Linked DNA regions of Homo sapiens: all the other regions are linked to region 4. The links are contacts of gene promoters, found by promoter capture Hi-C in blood cells and fetal thymus (Javierre and others, 2016). All regions are on one chromosome and are shown on one strand. Each heading gives the region's core, a stretch centred on a gene start or on the middle of the fragment in contact. The rest is flanking DNA. Distances are from core to core; before and after follow the strand shown.

The links. Contacts are between HindIII fragments. The CHiCAGO score rates a contact against its expected background, and 5 or more counts as called.
Region 1: a fragment that was not itself captured here is called in contact with the fragment with the promoter of TTC7B in region 4 in 1 of 17 cell types (megakaryocytes); the score reaches 5.8 in megakaryocytes.
Region 2: a fragment that was not itself captured here is called in contact with the fragment with the promoter of TTC7B in region 4 in 1 of 17 cell types (megakaryocytes); the score reaches 6.3 in megakaryocytes.
Region 3: a fragment that was not itself captured here is called in contact with the fragment with the promoter of TTC7B in region 4 in 3 of 17 cell types (endothelial precursors, erythroblasts and M1 macrophages); the score reaches 7.0 in endothelial precursors.
Region 5: a contact is called between a fragment that was not itself captured here and the fragment with the promoter of TTC7B in region 4, in 1 of 17 cell types (endothelial precursors). The highest score is 5.4, in endothelial precursors.
Region 6: a contact is called between a fragment that was not itself captured here and the fragment with the promoter of TTC7B in region 4, in 1 of 17 cell types (megakaryocytes). The highest score is 5.8, in megakaryocytes.

The regions. Positions count from the first base shown.
Region 1 is chr14:91,146,712-91,149,512 of GRCh38, forward strand. All of the region lies in intron 1 of DGLUCY (D-glutamate cyclase), which reads left to right. Among named protein-coding and RNA genes, the nearest start is that of SNORA11B, 22 kb to the left of the region's middle. The HindIII fragment of the contact is 3,526 bases long and covers 1-2,801 here.
Region 2 is chr14:91,300,884-91,303,676 of GRCh38, forward strand. All of the region lies in intron 20 of CCDC88C (coiled-coil domain containing 88C), which reads right to left. Among named protein-coding and RNA genes, the nearest start is that of GPR68, 58 kb to the left of the region's middle. RefSeq lists silencers at 2,320-2,379, 2,540-2,699. The HindIII fragment of the contact is 6,207 bases long and covers 1-2,793 here.
Region 3 is chr14:90,387,904-90,390,603 of GRCh38, forward strand. No RefSeq gene overlaps it. Among named protein-coding and RNA genes, the nearest start is that of CALM1, 7.8 kb to the right of the region's middle. The HindIII fragment of the contact is 3,178 bases long and covers 1-2,700 here.
Region 4 is chr14:90,814,993-90,817,692 of GRCh38, forward strand. TTC7B (tetratricopeptide repeat domain 7B) reads right to left here and starts at 1,438. Exons shown (of 20, transcript NM_001010854.2): 1 at 1,183-1,438. The coding sequence starts at 1,303. RefSeq lists a silencer at 1,432-1,611. The HindIII fragment of the contact is 10,969 bases long and covers 1-2,700 here.
Region 5 is chr14:90,408,036-90,410,735 of GRCh38, forward strand. CALM1 (calmodulin 1) reads left to right here. Exons shown (of 6, transcript NM_006888.6): 6 at 1-233. Among named protein-coding and RNA genes, the nearest start is that of CALM1, 12 kb to the left of the region's middle. The HindIII fragment of the contact is 261 bases long and covers 1,258-1,518 here.
Region 6 is chr14:91,166,925-91,169,666 of GRCh38, forward strand. It overlaps DGLUCY (D-glutamate cyclase), which reads left to right. Exons shown (of 14, transcript NM_001102368.3): 4 at 301-454. Among named protein-coding and RNA genes, the nearest start is that of SNORA11B, 42 kb to the left of the region's middle. The HindIII fragment of the contact is 1,825 bases long and covers 483-2,307 here.

The DNA.
Region 1 (2,801 bases), core at 203-2,702, 330 kb after region 4:
GAATGGAAGGGGGCCCATGAGAGCAATCTTGAGGCATAACAACAGCTGCAGAAGGTGACTGCAGGGAAGCGGACTGTGCTCCTATTCTTTATGTTCTGTTTTTAGCTGTGTTTTTCAGAGCAAGTAGGTACCATGGTGATAGGTACCATAGAAATAGATGGAGCGCACCACCCAGCACGGGGCTGCCAAGCTGTTCCCCTGGAAATGCACCGAGAGCTGCCAGGGAGAGCCCAGGGACTCTGCTTCCTGGGGCCTGTCAGCTGCACGGCCAGGGAAGAAGTCCCCTGTAGAATGGTCCCCAGAGGCTTCTCACTGTCTTGCTGTCATTGTCCAAGGTCCCTGATGGTGCATCCTCCTCCTGGAGCACCTGTGGCCTTCCTCTCTGAGTCCTCAGGAAACTCACTTAAGGGGGTTTGCCTTTGCCTAGTGAAGCAATTATCTTGGCCAACAGTGACCTCAAAAGTAGCACTGCCAGCATTCCTGTCTCCATAGTTAGGAGTGCGTGGTCCTCATCCTGCCTGGATGTGGCACTGTCACTGGTTTTATGCAATGTCATAAAGAATTTGTGGGGCAGGAGCTGAGTTCTGAACATTTGGTAATCAGGAATACTCATAAAATGAAATTTCAGAGGATCTAACCCAGAAAGCCGAGCAAGGTAGGGCATAACCACGTCTGATATGGTGGTTTTCAGTTTGTGAAGCCACAGGCAGTACAGAATAGGGCCCAGCCTCAACTATTTTTGGATGCAGCTTGAATGGACTGAAAGACCCTTTGAAACAAGTGCTGGAACCATCCCGTAGCACTTACATAACCATCTCTGCAAGGCTGTTGATAGATGAATGTAAATGAACCTAGGCAGAGCTTAGCTCATTTTTATTTAGATTTAGACCAATTTCATGTCTTCTGAAACGTAACCCATATATACACACACTAAATCTAACTCTTTTATTTTAGGCCTAGCATGAGAGGATCAAGTTGAAAGGGCATCTGTTATTATATCTGTCCCATCATATCTGCTTCTGTGATGGCTTTATTATGTACATTTCTTTCTATACATTTGTGCTCTCAGGTGGCATTCTTCTTCAGAGCAGGGCAAGTGTAATTCTGGACCAATGTGTGATTCTGAGACCAGACCAACCAACTGAAGGTAATTTTATTCTCAATTAAAGAAACACAGACGGGGCGCAGTGGCGCACGTGAGCCTGTAGTCCCAGCACTTTGGGAGGCTGAGGCAGGTGGATCACTTAAGGTCAGGAGTTCAAGACCAGCCTGGCCAACATAGTGAAACCCCATTTCTACTAAAAATACAAAAATTAGCCAGGTGCAGTGGCACGCACCTGTAATCCCAGCTACTTGGGAGGGTGAGGCAGGAGAATCGCTTGAACTAAGTAGGTGGAGGTTACAGTGAGCCAAGATTGCACCGCTGCACTCCAGCCTGGATGGCAGAGTAAATCTCTGTCTCAAAAAAGAAAGATACACACATCTCTAACAAAGGATTTTTTTTTTTTCTTGAGACAGGATCTCTCTCCATCACCCAGGCTGGAGTGCAGTGGCTCCATCTCGGCTCACTGCAACCTCCACCCCCAAGGCTCAAGCGATATTCCTACCTCAGCCTCCCAAGTAGCTGGGACCACAGGTGTGTACCACCATGCCTGGCTATTTTTTTGTATTTTTAGTAAAGACAGGGTCTCACCATTTTGCTCAGGCTGGTCTCGAACTCCTGAGCTCAAGCGATCCACCCACCTTGGCCTCTCAAAGTGCTGGGATTATAGGCATGAGCCACTGTGCCTGGCTAGGAATTTATTTTAACAACCAAAAACTTAAAACTCAATAACATCATTAACTCATAAATTATTGTTTAGTTACAGATTACGAAAATGATAGAACCAGAAGGTGCTAACAAAATGTCTGTCCTGCATGTGTGGCATTTGACATGAAGAAACTGAGGCCCTTGCTGGGCGCAGTGGCTCATGCCTGTAACCCCAGCACTTTGGGAGGCCAAGGCAGGAGGATCACTTGAGCTCAAGAGTTCAAGACCAGCCTTGGACAAGATAGTGAAACCTTGTCTCTACCAAAAAAATACAGAAGTTAGCCAGGCATGGTGCAGTGTACCTGTAGTAGCAGCTACTGAGGAAGCTGAGGTAGGAGGATCGCTTGATCCCAGGAGGTCAAGGCTGCAGTAAGCCGTGATTGTGCCACTGCACCCCAGCCTGGGCGACAGAGTGAGACCCTGTCTCAAAAAAAGAAAAGTAAAGGCTACGCGCGGTGGCTCATACCTGTAATTTCAGCACTTTGGGAGGCCGAGGCGGGTGGATCACCTGAGGTGGGGAGTTTGAGATCAGCCTGACCAACATGGAGAAACCCCGTCTCTACTAAAAATACAAAATTAGCCAGGCGTGGTGGCGCATGCCTGTAATCCCAGCTACTCGGGAGGCTGAGGCAGGAGAATCACTTGAACCCGTGCGGCGGAGGTTGCTGTGAGCCGAGATGGTGCCATTGCACCCCAGCCTGGGCAACAAGAGCGAAACTCTATCTCAAAAAAAAAAAAAAGAAAAGAAAAGAAAAGAAAGAAACTGAGGCCCAAAGAGTTTGCATACTTTGCTATTAGTTCAGCCTGTCTTCTGTGTATGCAGGTGGTGTCTCTAGGTCGTTATCACTCTGGCAAATTCTCTCCCAGTGATGGAGATGTGTGGAGCCCCCAGTCTCTCCAACCAGGGAGTGGTGCTCATGGTGACCCTGAAGTAGGCTTGTGGGTCAGGCCGTTGGTTGAGCTGTGCAGTGCCAGAAGTAGCTAAACATCC
Region 2 (2,793 bases), core at 198-2,697, 490 kb after region 4:
GTCTGAGGCACAGTCTCCTGATCTTTCCCATTCAGGCAAATTCTTCTCTACAGACCCCTTCCTGAGTGTCTCACACCCAAAGACAATCTGACAGAGGCTAGCCAGTGTCCCTGGGGTTTCTGGCCTTTCTCTTCAGGACTCCACTGCACCTTGTTGGAAAAGCACATTAATCAAGCATGTCTCTAACCATTAGCAATGACCCAACTGTAGGGCAGAAACTTTATAACTCTTACTCACCACTGAATCCCCGTGTGAGGAATGACACGTAGTGAATGCTTGTTAGAGCAATGAGTGGGTGAGCGTCTCCGATTTTAGTGTCAAATGAGAAGAAGAGAAAACCATCATCCTTGTGTGCCATGTACCTACACTCCTAAACCTGTAGCCCTGCTGCAGACACAGCAAGGGAGCCTCCAGTCATCTGTCCAACCAGCAAAAAGCACTGAGTAACTACCACATGCTGTACTGAGCAAGGACCTGCAGGGAAAACAACAGTCCAGACTCCACCTGCCAAAACCTTTGCTCTCTGAATGCACATTAAGAATACAATAAGGGGTCAGCACGGTGGCTCACGCCTATAATCCCAGCATTTTGGGAGGCCGAGACAGGTGGATCACTTGAGGTAGGGAGTTCAAAACCAGCCTGGTCAACATGGTGAAACCCCATCTCTACTAAAAAATACAAAAATTAGCCGGGTGTGGTGGTGCATGCCTGTAGTCCCAGCTACTTGGGAGGCTGAAGTAGGAGGATTGCTTGAAGCCGGGAGGTGGAGGCTGCTGTGAGCCAAGATCGCTCCACTGCACTCCAGCCTGGGCGACAGAGTGAGACTCCATCTCAAAATAAAGAAAGAAGGAAAGAATACAATACAGCATTATTTAATACGACATAACATAACACTAAGAATAAGGCACGCAAGTGCCTGGTGAGTGCTGGGCATCATGCTAGTATCAGACTTACACGAATGCTTCATTAGTTTGTCAGCTGGGTGCAACTCCTACCATGTCTAGACACAGCACCACGTACACAATAAATGTCACACAAATAACAAGATGGGTGGGGGAAGACGAGGGAGAGATCAAAGTGAAAAGAGGCAGAAGATGCTACTTTAGGCCGGAAGGAGTAGTCTTATAGTTTCAGATGCCTCAACAGCCCCTGAAGGATGGAGATCTGGATGGATAAAAGGGGTGAAGAACTCCAGATAGAGACAAAAAGGAAGCACTTGGCAAGTGAATAAATGAATGTCATCACCACCCATGAACCCACAAGCATCATCAGCGCCCGCACAAGGCTTTTGTGATTCAATGACATTTGTGGCTCCTGACCGTGGAGATGTCCTCCCCACTCCCACCTTGAAGAACCAACGATCACTTAGCCATGTTGTTGAGGCGGCTCCAAAGGATATACCATCAGCAGGGCCATTTCCCAGGCAAAGGAAGTAGATCTTGCTCCCTCTGTTGTACTCCAAGTACCTGAGAGCCTCTCTTTAGCCATGTCTCTCTCATGCATCAGATTCAGGTGCACATCACACCTGCCCCTCAGACTCTGGAGAGCAGCATCCTACCTCTCCTAGCCCTCCCTGGATCCTGCCATGCCCTGCGCAGGTGCCTGGTACCATCACTGATCAGCAGGAGACAGAATCCCAGCCCAGATTGGCTGACTTAATGAATACAAAACCCAAGACCATGAACTGTCAAGAGTGCAAAGTTAAGATGTGTGCATTTCAATGTAAGTTTTACCTGTAAAAAATGGGGTGAGGGTGTGGAGAGTGGGAGGTGCACATGAAATGAGAACAGCAGGACATAAATGACTGTCGAGAGTGCATGATGCATACACAAGAGTTTCACTATATGATTCTGCTTCCTTTCTATATGTTCGGAAGTTTCCATAATTAAAGGTTAAAAATGAAAAAAAGCAAGCGAGACCTTGATATGAAAGAGAAGAGCTGGGAGGCCAGAGAAGGCATACCCCTACAAACGGAGCCGTGGAGAATTCCCTCCTTATTTCTGTTTTGGGGAGAAAAGAGACAGAAGAGAACCCTTAGGGATCAGGGCCCCAAAGGCCCACTGGAAATAGTAGAGGCATCCCCTTCTCCACACAGGAGCCCCTCTTACTACTGTCTTCAGTTGCACAAATTCCAAATTGCTAAAGGTAACGTTTATTTCCTTCCTTTTGGGAAAGCTCAGGTGCCCCAACAATGGGAAGCAGCTGGCCAAGAGATTTCCTGCAGGGGAGGTCCAGGGAAGTCCCAGTCCTCCGCGCAGCCTGACAGACTCCCCAGGCCTGGCCTCAGGCCCCGCTGCAGGCCTACCCAGGGGCCCCACCTCCACCCTCCTTCACCTCCCCTCCCCACACACCCTGCCTCTCCCCCGGGCCCTGCCCACTTCCCCAAAGCCCTGCCTCTCCTGAGACCCTCTCCTGAGACCCCACCTCTGCTCCAGGCTCCACCTCTCCTCCAGGCTCCACCCTTCTCACGAGGCCCCCGCCTCTCGTCCAGGCTCCACCCATCTCCCCCAGTCCCTGCCTTTCCCACAGGTCCTACCCACCTCCCCCAGACCCCGCCTCTCTCCAGGCTCCACCTCTCTCCCCAGGCTCTGCCTCTCCTCCAGGCTCCACCCCTCTCCCCAGGCCCCACCCCTCCTCCAGGCTCTATCACTCTCCCCCAGGTCCCACCCATCTCCTCCAGGCTCCACCCATCTTCCCCAGGCCCTGCCTCTCCCCTAGGTCCCACCCATCTACCCCAGGCCCCACCTTTCCCCCTGGGCCCAGCCTCTCCTCTGGACTCTACCCCTCCCCAGA
Region 3 (2,700 bases), core at 20-2,519, 430 kb before region 4:
GCCCAGTTTGCTAAGGGTTTTTTTTTTCATGAAGAACATTTATAATAAACTCTTTGTTCTGCATAAAAAAGGAATAATGTTTATGTCTTTATTTCCCATTATGTGACTTTTAGGCTGCTTTCTAAAATTTTGATTTCTTTTCTTCAGGTGGTTAAAACAGTATGATTGGACTTGTTTAGAGCATGGTGCTCTTTCACAGAAAGAGAAACTTGTTCCAAGGCTTCAGCAGTATCCTAACCCCCTAACCCAGCTGGCCGTCTAGCAAATATTCACAGCATACAAGTTTCGAAAGTCAGAATGGCTCGGTGGGAGCCTATGGTGTCACCATACGGAACACAGTTTGAAATGTGTGCTCAAACCACGAAGTATTCCCATATGCAAAGGTTCCCACAGGTCTCAATTGAATCTGTATAAAAAATTAAAAAATAAAAATAAAGTTCCCACAGGTACAAAGCGCAGAATACCTTTTCTCAGTTCTTTCCCCTTCTTTAGGACTTGAAAATCAGAAATGCCTCTAGTAGAATCTCCGTGTCAGCAGACCATTTAAAATATGGCTCATATGTTTTGCTGCTATTCAGTTTTAAGGTCATTTCCTAAGTTTCAAACTTTGTGGGAAACAGGTGCAACTGTGAACCTTCGTGTGGCAGGGAAGAGCTGGAGCAGTGAAACATGAAACTACAAATCAGTTCTCTGAGTCACAAATCTCTTGGGCTGCTGTGGAAGACAGTGATGACTCAGCAGAATTGCATGGGACTGGTGGAGGGTGAGGCGGCTGAGGGCTCAGTGCCCTGAGTACCAACCTGTTGGGGGTGCTGCCAAATGATGGGAGACCGAGTTGGATCTTCCCACTGCTGAGCCCTTCCGCAGACTAAGTCAGACCCCCTGACCTGGGTTCTGAATGGATTTCTGACCCACCCATTGCCATTTAGCACAATGATATTTTAAATATTATACGCAACCACATCGTATATTTCCCTAGGGTTTGTTTATTACACTAATGTTACAGATGAGATAGCTGAGTCTGCCTGGCTAAGTGGCCAACGAATCAGCCATTTAACCTAGCAAATGAGATGCAGCAATATGGTCCTCTTCTTGGGAAAAAGCTATTTGCTTTGTCAAAACAATGAAAATAACAAAGCCTTGAGTAACCCTTCATCAAAATAAGACAAATTTTCTGTCTATGCTTTTTGGTTTATGAGAATGAGAATGAGAAGGAAGGTGACACACTGATACTCAGTTGTACAACTTGAAAACACTCCTGAAGGTACATCTTTTCAGTGGCCAAATGATTCAATCATCCCGTTGTGATGCCTGGAGTTGGTTTATTAGCCAATGACTCAGAGCCTCAACTTAGAATGAATAAAACTCAATAAGCATCTTCACTAGATTCAGATGGAGGTGGTTTTTCTGTTCAAAGACAACTTCCCTTTGACCATATTTTCTCCATTATAGGAAGCAGAGGATGGATCCAGTTATGTGAAAGTCTGAAGAAAATTGCCAAAGGATGGGTCAGCCAAGGTATACGCTTGCTCGTGACTGTAGAAGGATACAGGTTGGGATCAAAGCAGGGATAGTTCAGGATGTTCCTCAGGAGGTGTGGCCTCCCACCTTGCTTTCAGAATTAAAGCAAAGGACTTTCTTTTCCTTTTGTATTTTGAGAAATTCACTTTTAATATCCTCTTCAGTCCTGAGAGTGAATTGAGCTCAACACTAATCAATTAAATAGTTGACTGGTGTTTAATGAGTCAAATGCTATGCTGAGTTCAAAAAGTATATCTTGGCTTCTACTACTATCTGGTTGATGTTAGATATATGAAACGATAATATCAGGTAGAAAAGGACAAGAGGGGTAGGAATTCAGCGGAGAGGAAGTTCATTTGGAGTTGTGATAATCAGGAAAGTTTGAAACATGTTGCATTTAAACTGGGCATGAAGGACCCGTAGGATTTAGATAGGTGGTGAGGATATGGATAGGCATTTGGACACTAGGAATGGCATGGAAAAGGCAATGAGTTGAGAGGAGACAATGTATATTCAGGGGACAGAGACGATACTGATTTGTCTGAAGCAAAGAATGTATAGAATAACAAAGGATGGTAATGCTGAAAAAGTAGATTGGCAAACTGTTGAAAGGCATTGGGAGGCATTGAGGGTTTTTGAGCATGGGAGTGACATGATGAAACTGCTGGCAGCTGTGCATTGGATGGATCAGAAGGGGACAAGCTCATTGGGATAGACAAAGATCATGGATGTGCTATTAGAAATTTTGGGATCCTCAACATTCCTGATCCAGGCAAACACAGATACTTCCTTTTTTAAAATTTCTAGAATGGAGCTATCTGATGTAACTTATTGGAATGATGGAAATGTTCCATGCTGCCCAATATGGTAACCACTAGCCATATGGGCCTATTGAGCACTTGAAATGTGGCTATAAAGACTGAGGAACTCAATTTTAAATTTTAATTAAGTTTGATTTAAATAGCCACATGTGATTAGTGACTACTGGATTGGGCAGCACAGCTCTAGAAGGCAGGACAGAGGCTATTTATTGATTGAAAACCAAACCACACAGTTGCCAAATTAGATCTTAAGTCTGTTGGAATTGGTGGGGCCAATTCTTTAATATAACCCACAATCAGCATCAATTTACCTGATTTATCATTATGGTCTGGTTTTCCGTGTATCAAGACCTCAGCA
Region 4 (2,700 bases), core at 188-2,687:
CACAAACATAAACCACCCTCCAGGAGGACACCTGACATCCCTCTCCTTTCTGGGTAGTCTGAAGTGAGAAGGTTGAAAATAGTGCAGATGTCCTTTCTTAGAGCAGCCCCGCCATCCATTCATTCACTCTTTCATTCATTTGTTCAGCCAACATGTGCTCACTGGGCCTGGGGAAGCCCAGGATGAAATGAGACAAACCCTCTGCCCTCTGGCCACGGTGTGCTGGTGCCTGCGCTTTAGGCGGGTACTAAAAGACAAGCAAATATTAAAGATACTCGCTTCCAAAACAAATAAGGCCACGTGGAGCTGTGCACTGGAATGGGATTCTGGATGCAATTTTATTTGATTGGGTACAAGAACCAATCCAGTTAAAGGGGTCATGAACCAACTCCAGGCACCAGGCTCCTACTCAGAGGCTGCCTCAGACCCCCTTCTGGCCCAGGCACCAACCCCTCACCCACCCAACTCCATCTCCCGACATTCTTCAACCACATTCCCATCTCGCTCCACAATATTCTCCCTCCAGGTCCCCCTGACTCTATTTCTCCTCTATTCCCAACCCTGACCTCTCTAGGTCGGCAGCCTTGATGCTACTTCTCCGAACGCCAGGACGCACATCCCAGCCTGCTTTCTACCACCACCCCACACACCTCGAGTCTGCGCTTCCACCCAGAACCCCTTAAACACCATATGTTTACAAACCAGATTCCCCAGGGGTCTATGTACAACACCCCATTCTCAAGACCCCATAAACACATCCTGATTCCCTGAGCACACCATACACACACTGTGGACTTCACCCATGTCCTGAGGGACCCCCTCACCCCATCACCTCCAACTTCTTGGAAGCCCCAGGCCGGCCCCTGACCTCCTGTGGTCCCAGTGGAGCAGCGGACTCGCTGAGACCCCCGGACACCCCAGACTCCGCAGAAGCCCGCCCTGCACGCTTGAACCCCAGGCGCCGGGACAGCCCCTGGCGCCCCCCCGGGCCCCCACACCGCGTGACTCCGGGGCACCCGGGCTCCCCCAGGCCCCGGTCCCGCGCACATCCCCTGGGCCGCAGCTCCCTCGCGGCCCGGCCGCGCCCCTGCCCGCGCCCCGCGCCCGGCCGCGCCTCGGGGGCCCGTTCCCGCGGAGGCCGCGGCGCCCCCCGCAGCCCAGGCCGGCGCGCCCGGAGCGTACCGTTGGCGATGAGCTTGGCCGACAGCTGCTTGACGAGCTCAGGGATCCGCTCCCACTGGCACTCGGAGCGGCAGCGCTCGATCTCCGTCTCCAGCCGCGAGCCTGCCTTCTTGGTCGCCATCGCGGCCTGGCCGGGCCCGGCCGCCCGCCCCGCAGGCCCCACCGCCGCCGCCGCGGCGCCCCCTCGCCGCCTCCCGCCGCCGCCGCGGGCTCGGGCTCCGGCTCCCGGCTCCGCGGCGTAACGGGAGCGCCGGCTGGGGAAGGGGCGGGGAGGCGGGCGGCGGCGGCGGGCGCGGCGGGGCCCCGGGCGCCGCGAGGAGCGGCCCCTGCCGGCCAGGGCCGGAGCCGCAGCACTGACCGGGGCCGGAGCCAGGGCTGGGGCAGGGGCGGGGGCTAGGGCGGGAGACAGGGGCCCGAGGGAGGAAAGGCGGGGTGGGCATGGAGGACAGGGAGAGGGACTGGGGGTGTCTGGGGCGGGGTGAAGACCGAGGGGAAGTGGGGATGGGGGTGGGGGAGCGGGGTAGGAGAGAGATCTGACCAAGGGCGGGTGAGGGGTCTGGTGGGGTAGGGGTCTGGGCAGGATGAAGGGGAGGGAGAGGATCGGGAGGGAGCTAGCGACAGCCTGGGAGCGGGTTGGATCCCCAGGAGTAGGGCCAAGAAAGGGCAGTGACCCTGGGGAAGGTCACCGCCCGGTGGGACCAGTGAGCCAGGTGTGAGGGGTGGGGGGAGGCCTGCCCGAGTTTGTCCTGCCATCTCAGGTGGCCAGCGGTTCCCTGGGGCCCGGTTGGCCTGTGCCCCTTAGCAGATGCCCCTCTGCCCCGCAGCCTTAGCCCCTACCCAGCCAGAGGTGGACGGAGACTCCTCCATCCCAGGCAAGGCACAGCACCTGCCAGGGGTGCCCTAGATGGCTGAGCGGAGCCAGGCAGGGGCTGCCACTCTCACACGCCAGCTCTCGGACCCCCTGAGGGGAAGGCACAGTCACTGGTGGGGCCTCCTGTCTTGGCCACCTAGACTGAGACCTAGGGAGGTGTCCCTCTGTGTTCTCTCAGTGAATCAACTGTCTAGTGATCACCTACTATGTGCTGGGCGCTGCTTTAGGTGCCAGAGATAGAATTGTGAGCTAAAAAAACAAAATTCCTGGCTTGAGAGAGCTTACATTCCAGTTTGGGGGAAAAATAAGCAAAATAAAATAGTAAACTAGACTGTAAAAATGGCTATTTGAAGAAACAGGGAAGGGTTCAGTGAGGAACATAAAGAGTTGGGACAGGCGGGTGGCTCATGCCTGTAATCCCAGCTACTCAGGAGGCTGAGGCAGGATGATTGCTTGAGCCCAGAAGGTGGAGGCTGCAGTGAGCAGTGAACGCACTTCAGCCTGAGCAAGTGTTGCCATTTAAAATGGAGCAGTCAGGGATGGCCTCACGGAGGTGGCATTAGACTTGAAGAAACTAAGGGGGAGCCATGAGGATATCTCTGGGGGAGGAGTATCCCAGGCAGAGAACACCACAAGTGCGAAGGCTC
Region 5 (2,700 bases), core at 138-2,637, 410 kb before region 4:
TAAACACTTCTGTAGCAAAGATGGTGGTAGTTCTTTTGTTACTGAAGTTGCCCTTCACCATGGCTATTTGAAAAGGAGATGTACTTGGACGTTTCTGTAAATCTTGAGATAAACTGTTTGGAGATTTAACCACCTCTCTGATGGGGGACCAACTCTATGGAAATTGTAAATACGTTTTATTTATAAACCTGGCACTGTATTCAATAAACATTTCTGCAGCCTTTCATCTCTAACTGCGAACTGTGTAGGTTTCTAGCTTGCATAGCTTTCAATTCCTTTTGCTCTCAACAAGATAGACCTGCCCTCAGATGTAATTTCACTGGGTCTCTAGTACTGTGAGAGTGAGGGGCCAGAAATAACCGTAGACACATCCCACAACCGTCTTACCCTAGTTTTAAGTAGTTTGAGTGTTAATAGCTGACATTTTAACCTATTCTCTTAGCCTATTAACTTGTCCATGCTTGCTTTTTATGCGGAAAATTTACACCATAAGGATTAGTTTCCTTTTAACCCCAATCCAAGCCTCTTTAGGACTTGTATAAAGAAATACATTTTTTTCAATAAGATGGGAATTTTAGATGACAACCAAGATGATACCTTGGTTCATGTCAAGAGCGGGACAGCTGAGGAAAGTGGGGTGGGATGCAAGTACAATTTAGGACCTTGGCATTGAAGCCTTCCCCTTAGTCAACACTGGCCCAGACCCTGGTTCTTAGATGTAGCAGGAGAGGCTGCCTGCTTCTGCCCCCTTTGCTTCCAGAAAGGCCTTTTCCAGCTGCCTCGTGTGTTTCCCACTCTGCCCAGAAGGAGTGAGAGGGCTGAAAAGCGGGGCGGGATAAGGCCCTGCTTTCGACAGAAGGCTTGAGACACATCTCCAGAAAGCATTTAAAGAGCCCCTCCTGCACATAGGAGCTGGGACTATAAGGACATGGTCATCACCGTGGAGACGGCCCTCTGCTCTGAGGCTTTAGACCTGGCTTCTGGATTTGGTTCTGTCCCTCCAGCCTCAGGCAGGTTCTTTACCTTTCCCAGGCCTTGGTATCCTCCTTGGTAAGATCATATTGGACTTGGTACCTTCTGCCTGTGGCTTTCTAGGATTATGACCGACCTGGTTTGGCATCACTTTGTGTTTAGATAGATGAAATTGCAGCCTAAAGGATGGGAGGCAAAATTGTGTAGGAGTGCTGTGTCCTTTGAGATGACAAATGGGATTTAAAAATTCTCACCAGCTTCATGTTGGAGGTGGAGTGGAGGTTAAGCTTGCTATTAAGACGTGATGTAATATTGGAACCTGGGTCAGAGAAACTGATTGTTAAGTGACTTCCATTCTCCCAGGACGGAAATAGGAGGCTACCACTGGGCCTGTAAGGGATTCAGTCCAAGTGACATCATCTGGTTTTCAGCAGCTCCGGTTTAGAAAAACACACACACATTTCCGATTCAAGCTGAACTTTCCCGGGCACTGGGGGGCTGGAGCACCCAATGACTCAGGATGCCTTAGAAGGAAATAAAACATAAAGCTTTTTATAGCTTGGTGCTTCTCTCCCACTGCCCTCAACTCTCTGCCAAGGAGTGGGAGGAGTTAGCTCATGGACCAGAACTCCCATTAAAGCCCCTGAACTCTGATTAAATCAAGTGGCAGTTTTCCTCATGAGAATTATGTTCTTTGTGTCAGGAACCTTAGGAATGAGTGTGAATTGACACATTCAGATTGTGGGGTTTTTTTTTTCTCTTTTGAGGTGGGGTCTCATTCTCACTCAGGCTGGAGTGCAGTGGCACAATCACAGCTCACTGCAGCCTCCACCTCCCAGGTTCAAATGATCCTCCCACCTCAGCCCCCCCAGTAGCTGGGACTACAGGGATGTGCTGCTGTGCTCAGCTAATTTTTAAATTTTTTTATGCAGACGCGGTTTCACATGTTGCTTAGGCTGGTCTCAAACTCCTGGGCTCAACAAATCCTCCCACCTTGGCCTCCCAAAGTGTTGGGATTACAAGTGTGAGCCACTGTGCCTTGGCTCAGATAATTTTTTTTTTTTTTTTTTTTTTTTTTTGAGACAGAGTCTTGCTCTGTCACTCAGGCTGGAGTGCAGTGGTGTGATCTTGGCTCACTGCAACCTTCGCCTCCTGGGTTCAAGCAATTCTCCTGCCTCAGCCTCCTGAGTAGCTGGGACTACAGGCGCACACCACCACGTCTGGCTAATTTTTGTATTTTTAATAGAGACGGAGTTTCACTATGTTGGCGAGGCTGGTTTTGAACTCCTGACCTCAGGTCATCTGTCCGCCTTGGCCTCCCAAAGTGCTGGGATTATAGGCATGAGTCACTGTACCCAGCCCCAGATAGTCTTTTCAATATCATATCTTAGTTTTATTTTCAGTTTTACAAAGGCTAAAAGGAAAATCCAGAGTTTCCTCTAGCAATATAATTATTTGAACATTTTGTTACAACAAGATCTTTAGATCCTGGCTGTATGTAAGCATGTTTGCTTTTAAACTGATTTTTCATTTTGAGTCTTTGTATACCCTTCAAGTTGTGATTTTTTTTAAGTTACTGCATTTTTTAGCAAAAGATAGATTTTTTCCTGCATAGACATATCAGAATCAAGATTTGAGATAGATTGTTTTAAAAATGGAAAATAAGTAAAAAAGTAATTATAAAATCATATCTTAGTTAAAAGGAACAGGTCATATAGGTAAAACTTC
Region 6 (2,742 bases), core at 145-2,644, 350 kb after region 4:
TTGGCCCAACATGGGCCAATAAATATCCCATGTATATTTTTAGTCTCTACTAAAAATACAAACAATTAGCTAGGCGTGGTGGCAGACGCCTGTGATCCCAGCTACTCGGGGGGCTGAGGCAGGAGAATTGCTTGAACCCAGGAGGCGGAGGTTGCAGTGAGCCAAGATTGTGCCATTGCACTCCAGCATGGGCTACAAGAGCGAAACTCCGCCTCAAAAAAAAAAAAAAGAAAGAAAATCAGTAAGTGTCTGCCAAGAAACCGCTGACTATACATTTTTCCCTTCTCCCACCATACCCAGAGCTCCGACCAGCCAGCCTGGTGGTCCTGCCCAGGTCCCTTGCTCCAGCTTTTGAAAGATTCTGCCAGGTCAACACTGGTCCTCTACCCCTGCTGGGCCAGAGTGAGCCAGAAAAGTGGATGCTGCCCCCTCAAGGTGCTATCTCAGAGACCAGGTAAAAAGCTTGGGTTACTGTGGGTTGAAGCTTGGGAGTGTCCAGGTGCTGTAGCCAGGTGTCTCTGTCATCCGGGACCTCTCTGTCCAGCCTCAGGGACCTTCACAGTGCCTGGCACAGAACCTCACTCATGACTGTTGCTCAGGAACGAGCTGCCCTCCCCACTGTTCTGACTCCTTCCCCTATCACCTGGCGCCTGTCCTGGCTGAGATCTTTGAGATCATGGAGAAAGTCCAGCCCTGGAGAAATCCCACTGGCTCTGCCATCTGTCCACTCCATCGCCCAAGCCAGAAACCCGCCTGTACAGGATTAAGAAGAAAATAAAAAACACTTGCATTACCAACACCCAGAGACAGAGATATTGTGTCTGTTCTCCCAGGCTTTTAAACTAGAACCTATCTAGTAAATGGCCCTACTGATGCTGGGTCGGTGTACCTCTCCCACGAGTCTACCTTTCCTATGGCACCAGCACAGACTGGCATCTTCCCTGGCCTAGCCCTAGTCTCATCCTTTCTTCCCCAACCCTGTCATCATCTGCTTTCCCAGCAGAGTGACTTTCTAATGCTAAACCCGATCATGTGGCTCTCCTCTTAAAACTCCTTCAGACTGGGTGCTGTGGTTCATGCCTGTAATCCCAGTACTTCGGGAGGCTGAGGCAGGAGGATGGCTTGAGCCCAGGAGTTTGAGACCAGCCTGGGCAACATAGGGAAGACCTGGTCTCTACAAATTTTTTTTTTAAAAATTAACTGGGCATAGCGGTGCACACCTGTGGTCCCAGCTACTCGGGAGGCTGAGGAGGATTGCTTGAGACCAGGAGGTTGAGGCTGCGGTGAGCCGAGATCATGTCACTGCACTCCAGCCTGGGCAACAGGGCAAGACCCTGTCTAAAATATATATATATAAAATAAAATAAAATTCTTCAGCATCTTCTTATGGCTTGGACCTCAGCCTGATCTCAAGCCCATGGTGACCTGGCCCCAGCTCAGTTTCTCCCCTGACCCCTGACACTCCAGTCATCCCCAGCCAGTTCCCGAGACAGAAAACCCCCCAGGAACATTCTGTCATGATCATTTTAGGACGGGAAGGTCCTTTGGAGACCCCATCTGGGCCCATGATTGTACCTTTACATTTTTCCCCGGTGCCTCCTGTGCTGCCAACTTGGAAACTCCTGGAGCCCATCCCCCAGTGGGCTTTCCACGTGCTGCTTCCTCTGCCTGGGTATGCCTTCTTCCTTGCCCAACTGGCAAACTCCTATTCATGCCTCAAGACCCAGCACCAAACTCCTCTGTGGAAGAGAATTGATTTCTTCCTTCTCTGTGTCACTCTACCTAGACGGTTGACATTCCTTGCTGTGTATTGCCAGTATGTGTTTTCAGTGAAGTCTCACCTATCAATTAGGGTTACGAGCTCTTTAAATGCTGGGATGGGATGGGCGCGGTGGCTCACGCCTGTAATCCCAGCACTTTGGGAGGCCAAGGAGAGCAGATCACCTGAGATCAGGAATTCGAGACCAGCCTGGCCAACGCGGTGAAACGCTGTCTCTACTAAAAATACAGAAATTAGCCGGGCATGGTGGTTCGGGCCTATGATCTCAGCTATTTGGGAGGCTGAGGTGGGAGAATCACTTGAACCTGGGAGGCAGAGGTTGCAGTGAGCCGAGGTTGCACCACTGCACTCCAGGCTGGGCAACAGAGCAAGACTCTGTCTCAAAAAAAAAATAAATAAATAAAAAACATTAAAAAAAGAAAAAAAGACTGGGACAGTGTCCTCTCCATTACTCTAGCCCCATCGCCCAGCATGTGCCCGGCATGAAGGCATGGCTCAGTAAAAGAGTTTGGAGTGGGTAAAGAATAAGCTTGTAACCAAAGAAGTCTTTCAACCCTACAGAAGAGTTTCCTTTAAGGGAAGAGAAAGGCCTCACCCACTACTGGCACTGAGAGGTTCCCCAAGACACATATTCTCTGTCCCCTTTGGGCTACTGGTCCTACCTCTATAGCAGAGAGGCCACCATTTACTTTTCTTCTTCTTCTTTTTTTTTTTTTTTCTTTGAGGCAGTCTCACTCTGTTGCCCAGGCTGGAGTAGTGCAGTGGCACGATCTCGGCTCACTACAACCTCCACCTCCCAGGTTCAAGCGATTCTCCTGCTTCAGCCTCCTGAGTAGCTGAGATTACAGCTGTGTACCACCATGCCTGGCTAGTTTTTGTATTTTTAGTATAGACGGGGTTTCACCTTGTTGCCCAGGCTTGTCTTGAACTCCGGAGTTCAAGTGATCTGCCCGCCTCGGCCT